Regions from separate parts of the Homo sapiens genome. Here region 2 is linked to region 1. Evidence: promoter capture Hi-C in human tissues and cell types (Jung and others, 2019). All regions are on one chromosome and are shown on one strand. The core of a region is centred on a gene start or on the middle of the fragment in contact, and the rest is flanking DNA. Distances in the headings are between cores, read along the strand shown. Region 1 holds the start of CYTH2 (cytohesin 2). Region 2 overlaps NAPA (NSF attachment protein alpha).

Region 1 (5,504 bases), core at 843-3,342:
TCAGCTCAGGGTGTCTGGGGTAGGTAGGGATGGGGGCAATGGAAACGCAGGGTTGGGGAAGGATGTTAAGTTGGAAGTGAAGGGGCAGGGAGGGGGTTTCGTTTGAAAGGAGTATGGGAGCAGGGCAGCCCAGCCTGGGTTTCCACTGGGGAGGGCAGGGCCTGGGCCACTCATAAAGGTCAGTGAGGGGATTAGGAGCCTCCATGTCTAATCCGACAGCTTAACTAGGTCCTGGCCCTGAATCCGTCTCCACCTGCCCAGCCCAGGGACAGCAAATGAGGACGAGGCCCAGACACCACTTCAGCCCCCATTACGGCTTCCCTCTTTACAGGGGTGCCTGGGTTCCCTATTCCAGCCAGTCCCTTGACCACATTCCGTTACAAATAATGGGACATAGAGGCTGGGGAAGGGGAAGGGGAAGGGGCCTCAGAGGAGGGAGGAGTTTAAGAAGGGCAAGGGTGGCTGGGCACGGTGGCTCACGCCTATGGGCACGGTGGCTCACGCCTAGCACTTTGGGAGGCTGAGGCGGGTGGATCACCTGAGGTCAGGAGTTTGAGACCAGCCTGGCCAACATGGCGAAACCCCGTCTCTACTAAAAATACAAAAATTAGCCGGGCATGGTGGTGGGCGCCTATAATCCCAGCTCCTTGGGAGGCTGAGGTAGGAGTATCGCGTCAACCTTGTGGGTGGAGGTTGCAGTGAGCTGAGATCATGCCAGTTCATTCCAGACTGGGCAAAAGAGCAAAACTCTGTCTCAAAAAAAAAAAAAAAAAAAAAAAGGGCAAGAGTATGAGAGGACAAGGGGGACCGTGACGTGAGGGGAGCCAGAGAGGAAAAAAGGCCTCTGAGATGGGAGAAGGAATCAGAGAGGTGGGAGGATGCTGAGGAAAGGGGAGTTGTCTTAGCAGGAGGATGCTTGGGGAAGGGAGGAGTCTTAGGAGGATGCTAAGCTAAAGGAAGGAGTTTGGAGAAATGAGGGAGGAGTCTGAGCGGCAGAAGGTGCCAGGAAGGCCGAGCCTGTGCTTTCACTAAATTTCACCTTCCCCTGTTCCATTCCCCATGACCGATACCAAATAGCATAGCATTTAGAAAAAAGTAAATCTTGGCCAGGCGCGGTGGCTCACGCCTGTAACCCCAGCACTTTGGAGGGCCAAGGTGGGCGGATCATGAGGTCAGGAGTTCGAGACCAGCTTGGCCAACATGGTGAAACGCCCGTCTCTATTAAAAATACAAAAAATAGCCAGGCATGCACCATCATGGTGCAACCCTGTAATCCCAGCTACTCGGGAGGCTGAGGCAGGAGAATTGCTTGAACCCGGGAGGCGGAGGTTGCAGTGAACCGAGATCGCGCAACTGCACTCCAGCTTGGGCGACAGAGCAAGACTCTGTCTCAAAAAAAAAAAAAAAAGAAAAAACGAAGAAGTCTTTTGTTTCACCACTCCACGACTCCGAAGAGGCTGAGGGGGATGGGGAGGGCATAGATGGTGATAAAGAAGGAGTTCGGCGGTAAGAAGGGGCTGAGAGGAGGGGAAATACGCGGAGAAGAAATGCAAAAGAAAAGGAGGCCTAAAGCCGCTCCCGGTTGCATGGCAACCTTTGCGGTCAGAAGCCAGCATGGCCTGCTAGGAGGTGTGGCTTACGGAAACAAGCCAGTTCTAGCCCCGCCTCCTAGCAACAAGACTAACAAAGTACCGCCCCCTAGCAACGTATTATCGGAGGCGGGGCTCGGTTTACCTAGACTCCAAGTGTCCAGGGCCTTTGAGCAGGCGCAGAGGTGGCTGTACCGCGTGGCTCCGCCTCCGCGCGACACTTTTCCGGGGCTTCTCATTGGAGAGCAAGCCTGTCAAGTGCTTTCTGTTGTTTCGGAGGCGGGGCCTGCTGCCCTGCCTGCACTCCGATTGGCCCCGCGGGCCGTCTACCTCTGGCCGGACATACCTACACCGGCTTTTTGTACGACTGTTGGCCCTGGAGAACGATCCTTTGGTGGCGAGGGCGGGGAGGACGAAAGCGCCCACTGTGGATTGGACAGTGTCAAAAAGAGGGGCGGTCCCTACTGAAGGGGCGGTTGGGCGACGAAGGGAAGAGTCTTTTCAGCGCTGAGGACTGGCGCTGAGGAGGCGGCGGTGGCTCCCGGGGCGTTTGAGCGGGCTCACCCGAGCCCGCGGGCCAACGCGGATCCAGGCCCGACTGGCGGGACCGCCCCGGATTCCCCGCGGGCCTTCCTAGCCGCCATGGAGGACGGCGTCTATGGTAGGTCGGGGAGGGGCGGGGTCGGCTGGGAGTTGCTGGAGCGTTTTCTCCTGAACGTTCCGCCGCGAACGTTTCCCCCTGGCGCGCGGCGCCCAGAAGCGTTCGGCTCAGTCGTAGACTTGTCGCGCCGCTTTTGTTGGGCGCTGGACGGGCTTCCGGCGGGGCCCGAAAGCCGGGCGTTCCAGGCCATTGTTTGGGCTGAGCCTGTTTCCGGTGGCGGCGGGAGGGGCGGGATGGAGTGGTGGAGGCGAGGCCGGGGCGGAACCATTCCCGCTGGAGGGGCGGGCGAGCCCAGCGCCTGCCGGGGCCGGGGAGGGGCGCTTGGGTTGCGGGGAGGGGAGAAATCTTGGGGGGCGGGGGCCTTCGATGTCCCGCCCCACCTTCCCAACTCTCCTGAGCTGTCATCAGTTCCCCCGGCTGTAGTGACTTTTCATGGACCCAGTAGTCCGGATAACCAGGTCCCCAGCTACCTCGCCAGTAATGGAGTCAGAAAACCAAGGCCTCAGTCCCCTTCCAAGTAATGGACCTAGAAGCCGAGGCCCCCAGCCCTTTCTTCCCTCAGATCTAAGAGCTCAGGCACCCATTCCCCTTCTCCCTCAGACTCAGGAATCCGGGCCCCAATTCCCCTTGTCCCCCAGGACTCAAGAGTTTAGAGCCCCAGCTCTTTCTCCTCTGCAGGGAGGAATCCAGGCCCCCAGCCCATTCTTCTGTGCAGACATAGGAAGCCCCTTACACATCCTCTCCCAGCTCTGTCCGCCCCCAGATTGCAGGAATTCAGGCTCACGGCCCCTAGCACTGACTTTTAAACCTTGACCCCGATCCCTAGAACCCCCAGACCTGACTCCGGAGGAGCGGATGGAGCTGGAGAACATCCGGCGGCGGAAGCAGGAGCTGCTGGTGGAGATTCAGCGCCTGCGGGAGGAGCTCAGTGAAGCCATGAGCGAGGTGGAGGGGCTGGAGGCCAATGAGGGCAGGTGAGGGCTGGGGCGGATGACCTAGGGGGCGTGGGGTTGGCTGAGGCCAGGGATGCCCAGGCATTGACCCTCCACCCCCAACCCTGCTCTCTGCTCCTGCAGTAAGACCTTGCAACGGAACCGGAAGATGGCAATGGGCAGGAAGAAGTTCAACATGGACCCCAAGAAGGTGCTTGGGGCCACAGGACTGGGATCAGCTGGGCAAACATCCAGGCAGGGGCTTCTGGCACCTCCGGGTTCCAGAAGCGTGATGGTGCCGGGTCTATTCTAGGTGGACAGACTTGGTCCTAATCCCTGGATTCAGATACTGGCTGTCCATTTGTTTTCTGAACACTGAACACTGACCAAGTGTTCCAGCCCTCCTGACTGTTTTGTCCCCTGCCTGGAAGGTCGTCTTCCACTTTCTACTTGTATGGGCGCATTTCTGGTCCCAAGATGAGCTCGAGTCTTGTAGGGGCTGTGGACAAAGTGACATGCACAAAGGAGAGTTGACCTCTCTCCCACAAAGGTGCCGTGACGGAGGAAGGTATCAGGGTAGTGGACCTCTGGAGGAGGCAGGCTGGTGGAGTCAGGGAGGGCTTCCTTGAGGAGGAGACATTCAGGTCGGGTTTGAAGGATGAGTAGGTGTTCACCAGGTGGAGGAAAGGCTTTTGTTCACCTACTCTTTGTGTGTGTGTGTGAGACAGAGTCTTGCTCTATCACCCAGGCTGGAGTGCAGCGATGTGATCTCGGCTCACTAACCTCCGCCTCCTGCGATTCTCCTGCCTCAGCCTCCCAAGTAGCTGGGCTTACAGGCTCCCACCACCATGCCCAGCTAATTTTTGTATTTTTAGTACAGATGGGGTTTCACCATGTTGGCCAGGCTGCTTCCAAACTCCTGACGTCAGGTGATCCGCCCGCCTCAGCCTCCCAAAGTGTTGGGATTACAGGCATGAGCCACCGTGCCTGGCCTGTTCACATACTCATTTAACACCCATTTTCTGAGGCCTCTCAAGAGTCTGATCCTGTGTAGGGCAATGCTGGGGACCCAAAGAAGAATTAGATGCTGCCTTGTGCTCAGAGAGCCCTTGGACACCGATACCACAGTTCACAGTGAGATAAAGCAGTAGTAGAGAGGTCTTCGTAGCACAGAGAGTGAGAGAAACCTCCAGTCTAGCCAGGGCTTCGAGTTCACAGCCCTTGAAGGACTGCGTCTGCTAACAGGTTGTCACGTTATTCTTTCCTGAAGCAATTGGAATTCTGTTCAGTCATTCAACAAACATTGATTGGCTGGGTTCGGTGGCTTATGCCTGTAATCCCAGTGCTTTGAGAGGCCGAGGAGGGAGGATTGCTTGAAGCCAGGAATTTGAGACCAGCCTGGGCAGCATAGTGATAACTCATCTCTAGAAAAAATATAAATAAATAAATTAGCCAGGTGTGTTGGGGCATGCCTATAGTCCCAGCTTCTGAGGAGGCCGAAGTGAGAGGATCCCTTGAGCCCAGCAGTTCGAAGCTGCAATGAGCTGTGATCACGCCACTGCACTCCAGTCTGCAATAGAGCGAGACCAGGTCTCAGAAAAAAGAGAAAATGTACTGAGCACCTGTGCCTTGCCAGACCCTGTTGTTGGTGCTGGAATTAACCAGGCAAAGGCAGAGAGGGTAGGCCATGAAGTGCAAAGGCCATGAGTTGGGAAGAATGCTATTTAAGACCTGTGAGAAGGCTGAAAATGAAACCTGGCCCTGGTCTGTTGAGGGTGGGGGTAGGTCTGGATGCTGAGGTTCCCAGGGAGGTGAGTGGGGTGGCTTTCTGGCCCTCAGCACTGAGACCTTGTCCCCACCCACCAGGGGATCCAGTTCTTGGTGGAGAATGAACTGCTGCAGAACACACCCGAGGAGATCGCCCGCTTCCTGTACAAGGGCGAGGGGCTGAACAAGACAGCCATCGGGGACTACCTGGGGGAGAGGTACGGTCACCACTCAGCTCCTGTGGGGCCCCTCCCTCCCACCCCCCAGACCCAGCTCCTGCCCTCACACTGGCAGCTCACAGGTGGAACAGCCCTGCAGCCTCCCCGCAGAGGGGCCCTGGCAGATCAGCCTTCTGACTGGACTGTGACAGAATGGACTGACATGGGCTAGGGGAGCCTGCGGCCAACCGAGAGCATCTGGGGATGTGGGGCCTTCTGGAATTACCTGGCAGTTGTGGGGAAGCATCCATTTATGTCTGAGAAGGGTAGAGAACATCTCTCAAGGATCATGGGAGCTTGAGAACCGTGGGTAGACCATGGCTGTGCATAGGCACTG
Region 2 (5,504 bases), core at 1,173-3,672, 970 kb before region 1:
GGACAGCCAGCCCGTGTGGCCCGCAGAGGCCCTCACCTTGGGGGTCGGCTTTCTTGAATGCGTTGCCAGCGTCCACAAAGCAGGTGGCTGCGTCGTGCTTGCTCTGGAGCTGCAGGTGCAGCTGTGCAGCCTGGCAGAACGCGTTTCCAGCAGCTGGAACAGAAGAGAAGGGCAGTCCTGGCCTCAGTGGGGCTCCACACTTTATGAAGCCACAGAGACACTGCCCTGGGAGGTGGGTCGGGCTCTCGAGAATGCGGAAAGAGTCCCCAAGACAGGACGAGGGTGACCTGAGCGAGCCCAGACCGAGGCCTAGAACTCAGGTCTCCTGGCTCCTGCGCTCAGGTCTGCTGGCTCCTGCGCTGAGGCTCCTGGTGGCCCACCTGACAGTCTCTGAGGGCGGCAGGAAGCTGCCTCGGGGGAAGGCCCTGAGCCCCAGGTATATGGAAAGAGAGCCAGGGTAAGCCCAGGTAAAACACCATGTCCCTAATCCCAGCTATGCCAGCATTTCCAGGGCCACCACTTCTAAAGATCCAAGGAGAAGGCAGATAGAGCTGAGTTGGAAAGGATATAAAACAGAGTGAGGTGGCCTCCTGCACCTCCCGGCCTGGGCAGTCCTCCCCAGGGGAGCCTCGAAGCACAGGGCCCAGAACCACCACTAGAAGGCAAAGTACAGGCTGAAATCATGGGGTGGCTTCGGAGGGGTATTTTGGGAAGCAAGGGGCAACTGAGATTAAACCACATAACATCTTCCCATCTACTCCCCTTTCCAAGTCCTGTTTCTTTTTCCACAGCTCCCCAAAGCTCTTCCTGATTCTCCCAACTCCTCTGCCTCTGTTCACATTCTGTTCCCTTCACTGCAGATCCCCATGGACAAGGCACTTGCATGAATTGTGAGGCTCATGGAGTTGGGGTCGGACAACACAGAGCCGGCTCCCTCCAGGAGCTGCATGTCCAGAGAGGGAAACAGGATGTGGACAGCAAGAATGAATACATGCAGACCAGTGCCCATGGGCGGAGGGCAGAAGAGACCGTGCCTGAAGCCTCATCCATCCTGTGCTCATCTGCACACGGTCAGCTTCTGTGGGTCCCAAGCCATTCTGCCCACACATCTCCTAACTGACGTTTGGGAGGCAGCAGCATCTCTCCTCCTCCTCGTGCAGCTGACCACCTCCAGCTCAGCTCTGAGGCTTCTCCCCTTCATTCTCCTCCAGCTGAATCTGAGTCAGAGTTTCTAAGCTGGAAGAGGACCAGGAGGCCTGGCCCTATCCTCTTAAGTTTTGAGCAGCAGAAAAGACAAAGCCTTCCGGGTTTTCACTATATGATTTCATTATTTTCAAGAGTTCCAAATTTGAGTATAAAATTACGGCCAGGCGCGGTGGCTCATGCCTGTAATCCCAGCACTTTGGGAGGCCGAGGTGGGCGGATCACGAGATCAGGAGATGGAGACCATCCTGGACAACATGGTAAAACTCTGTCTCTACTAAAAATACAAAAATAAGCTGGGCGTAGTGGCACGTGCCTGTAATCCCAGCTAGTCAAGAGGCTGAGGCAGGAGAATCACTTGAACCAGGGAGGCGGAGGTTGCAGTGAGCCAAGATCGCGCCACTGCACTCCAGCCTGGCAACAGAGCAAGACTGTCTCAAAAAAAAAAAAAAAAAAAAAAAAAAAAAAATTTCAAGAAAAGGGGATATTACCGGGGGGAAATGGCCTAGGGCTTTTCTTTGAAGAGTTTGGGGGCAGAGGTAACAAATTTTAGGGGAAAAGCAACACCTATGTAATTAAAAAATAAGCTTTTTTTCTCTAGAGGAATTTTCTAAGTTTGGGAGCATAAAAATACAAAAAACATTTGGCTTTATTCACAACGTATTTTGTGAAAACTCAGGAATAACTCTTTGAATTTTGGGGAAACCAACAACATTCTCAAAAACGATGATAATCAATTTTATTGTGCACCTCTGCACCCTGCCTCCATGGTCCCACCACCAGGTTCCCTCTCCTCCACAGTCAGAAGTTCCTCCCTGCATTCAAACACTGGGTCTCTTGCCGTATTTCCTTAATTCAATCTTGGTGACATGAAAGATGTATGATGAAATGAGCCTCGAAAGGGCTCAACACACTGGCTTGTTGGACTTCTTGGGCCTGCAGGGAGCTCCAAACAGATCTCCAGCCTCCCTGAGCCCAAGGGGCTCCTCCCCACCCCTCTCCTCTGTGAAGCTATCCTGCCTCACTGGGGCAGGTTAAACACTCAGGCTCTGCAGTCAGAGCCTTGGTTTCTGAATCTTGGTTCTGTCACTTACTAGTTCTGGCATCCTGGGCAAGAGACTAAGCCAAGCCTCAGTTTCCAAATCTGTAAAATAGGGATATTTATAGACTGACCCTTAGGGCTGCTGTGCTAACGCAATTAAATGATGAGCACTTAGGACTCAACAAACAGCAGCCATGATTCACGTTGTTATTGGAATCACCTGAACATCCTCCCCCAGCCTAGAATTTAGACACTGATGGAAGCACTAAGGAAGTTACCAGGAAACCTGAAGTTCTGAATTTAAGGAGGACTCTAAGAGCTCATCAATCCACATGGGTTTATCTAGGTCTAATAATCTATTTATTCCCATCCTCTCTGTCCTTTCACCAAGGCCCCATGACCCAGAGTATAAAGTAACCCAGCAGGCACAAAACAAGAGAGCAGGCCAGTGGCTTTCCGATGCCGGAGAGGGCATACAAAGAGAAAGGGCCCTCAAGGCCAACCTCTCGGGCAGGCCTGTGTGAGTGGAAGCTGAGGGAGGAGGAGAGCACCTTGGAGGAGCTCTAGCGGAGATGACATACCACTCCAGTTTTTGGCCATTTTGAACATGTTTGCTGCTCTGGCGTAGATTTCGCATGCTTCCTCTATTTTGGATGAGCCTCTGGGGAAAAAGGAAAGAAAAAAAGGAGACAATCTAGTCGGCTATCCAGGAGAAAGCAAGCATTCTGCTCCAGTGCCGGGCACAGACGTGCCCCTACCCCTCACCCTTCACCTGTGAAGCCAGCTTCCCCCAGGCCTCTTGAGTCTGTGGCCCCCGCCCCTGCATACAATGGCACACTCACTTCGGGCAGACCAGCTCCCTCCGGGAGTACTGGGGTAGATACTGGGTGCTTGCTGGGGTAGTGGGGCGAAGAGTTCCTGACCCCACCACAACCCCAGGGTCTGACAGCCTCTTCTACTTCCTGCCTGGGATACTAGGGGCCCACTGGGTCCCAGGCGCGCTACAAATCCCCTTTCCCCGGGAGACTGCAAAGCATTCTGGGGGACTAGCCCAGTTTAAGACATCGTGTTGCTTTCGCAGAGGCAGCCTTAATCCTGTGCCTTGCACTCTGTGGTTGCTCAATAAAGACCTTGCAGCCCTGGAGTGTGTCATTACCAGCTCAGGACTGGGCATATATATCACACAGCCATACAAAGAAATGGGAAGCACTATTTTAAAGTGTAGATATAAGATGTTCCCATTTGTGTTTAAAAAAAAAAGAGGGTGGGCTGGGTGTGGTGGTTCATGGCTCCTGTAATCCCAACACTTTGGGAGGCCAAGGTTGGCGGATTGCTTGAGCTCAAGAGTTCGAGACCAGCCTGGGCCACACGGCAAAACCCCAACTCTACAAAAAATACAAAAAATTAGCAGGGTGTGATGGTGCACGCCTGTAGTCCTAGCTACTAGAGAGGCTGATGTGGGAGGATCACTTGAGCCTGGGAGGCAGAGGTTGCAGTAAGCCAAGATCACACCATTGAACTCCAGCCTGGACGACGACAGAGCCAGACCTTGTCTCAAAAAAAAAAAAAAAAAAAAAAAGAGAAAGAGAGTGAAAATAATAGAAACATACATGTTTATATAAACATAGGATATTTCTGGGCAAATACACAAAAACCTAGTAACAGCATTTTTCTCTTAAGGTGAAGCCTGCAGAAGGAGGGCCAGGTGTGGGAGGCAGACTTATTCACTGGACATCCCGTATTTGTACTGTCTGAATTTTTTTTTAACTGTTTGTACATCTTTTCGAGAAAAAAAATATATACATATATACACACACGTGTACATATATACACATGTGTATATATGTGTATGTGTATATATGTGTGTATATATCTATACATTTACACATACACAGACACACACACACACATATTTTTAAGTATTAGGATTTATATTTGGCCCTGTGGTCCAGCAATGAATTACATCTCTAGCAATTTATCCTAAAAAAACTAATCAGAAAAGTTACAAGGATGTTCAGCATAGCATTATTTAAAACAGCAAAACCCCCCAAAAACTTATTGTCCAACAGTAGGGATACACTGGGAGATAGACAGGAATTTGAAAACATAAAGGGTACCCTGTTTGGGCAGCTTCACTCTGGCTTCTTGACCTCCACATGTACATAATGAGCCTCCTCTTGACTTGGGGGACCTCATTAGTACCTCAAACCCGTAAGTCCCACTGCATTCTTCTGCCCTTAATAATACAACCAGGCTTAGCCCGCGAGGTCTGTAGTCTCTGTAACTGCTCAAACTCCCAATATCTACATAATCAGTAGAATAAAATCCACACACTCTGGAGTCCCACCAAATGGATTTCAGGGCCTCTCTTCACTGGCATAACTAGTGTTTAGTTTATTTTTAAGGAAGAGAAAAGGGAGGAGTGGGTACTTTCCCATTCAAATCATCCTCACCATCCCATCCCACACCCTGTGTCAACTGGCCCAACATTATACCTGGGAACTTGTCCACACCAACCCCAGCTGTGGAGGGGCTCAAAGGTAATTTTGGGAGCTGGGATGTGAGCATTCCTTCCCTCTGCACTGCGGATTCAGTGTGTCCAACCTGCCCATCCCTTTCAGCCACATGAAGTGCTCATTTCATCAAACCAGAGTCCCACAGCCACACACTTTGGGATTCGCTCAGTAGGGTCTGGATGGGGCCTGCAAATGAGATTTTTAACAATTGGGGTTTGGGGGGCCCAGGTAATTCAGCTGATCAGGTGAGTTTGAGAAGGAAAAATTGACTGAGACCGACTACCTGGAAAGCAGCCACCAGCGATCAGATCAGCGGCCAGGCCTGGCAATGTCAGCAGGCAAATAAATGCCCCCACGGTGGGCGGGCTGGTTGGGCCAGGGATCCTGGCCTCCTGAATCCACATCACACCAGGTAAATAATCTATTTATTCCTATCCTCTCTGTCATCTTGCCAGATGAAAAGCCTACCCTCTGCCTTCTGGGGCTGTGCTGATGCTGTCCCCCACCCTCTGCTGTCCCTGGGAAGTGGCCCTGAGCAATGTGTTCTTCCCGCACTCGCCCTGCTGCACTCTGTCTTCCCTCACCCACCTCACCTCAGCCAGCCCAACACACCTTGGGCCTTGTTTGGAGTGACTTCTTTTTTTTTTTTTTTTTTTTGAGATGGAGTTTCGCTCTTGTCGCCCAGGCTGGAGTACAGTGGCACGATCTCAGCTTACTGCAACCTCCAACTCCCGGGTTCAAGC

What was found. Contacts are between HindIII fragments. The study calls those that stand out against the background at their distance.
Region 2: a fragment that was not itself captured here is called in contact with the fragment with the promoter of CYTH2 in region 1 in 1 of the 25 tissues and cell types used here (heart right ventricle).

What each region holds. Positions count from the first base shown.
Region 1 is chr19:48,467,277-48,472,780 of GRCh38, forward strand. CYTH2 (cytohesin 2) reads left to right here and starts at 2,093. Exons shown (of 12, transcript NM_004228.7): 1 at 2,093-2,250; 2 at 3,077-3,224; 3 at 3,327-3,393; 4 at 5,049-5,167. The coding sequence starts at 2,232. LOC105372430 (a long non-coding RNA gene) reads right to left here and starts at 2,257. Exons shown (of 3, transcript NR_186576.1): 1 at 1,735-2,257. RefSeq lists enhancers at 1,194-1,694, 1,399-1,558, 1,752-2,745 and a silencer at 2,109-2,298. The HindIII fragment of the contact is 6,294 bases long and covers 1-3,982 here.
Region 2 is chr19:47,500,597-47,506,100 of GRCh38, forward strand. NAPA (NSF attachment protein alpha) reads right to left here. Exons shown (of 11, transcript NM_003827.4): 2 at 2,827-2,906; 3 at 37-153. It overlaps NAPA-AS1 (NAPA antisense RNA 1), which reads left to right. Exons shown (of 4, transcript NR_038452.1): 4 at 861-1,001. Among named protein-coding and RNA genes, the nearest start is that of NAPA, 12 kb to the right of the region's middle. RefSeq lists an enhancer at 80-634. The HindIII fragment of the contact is 4,210 bases long and covers 318-4,527 here.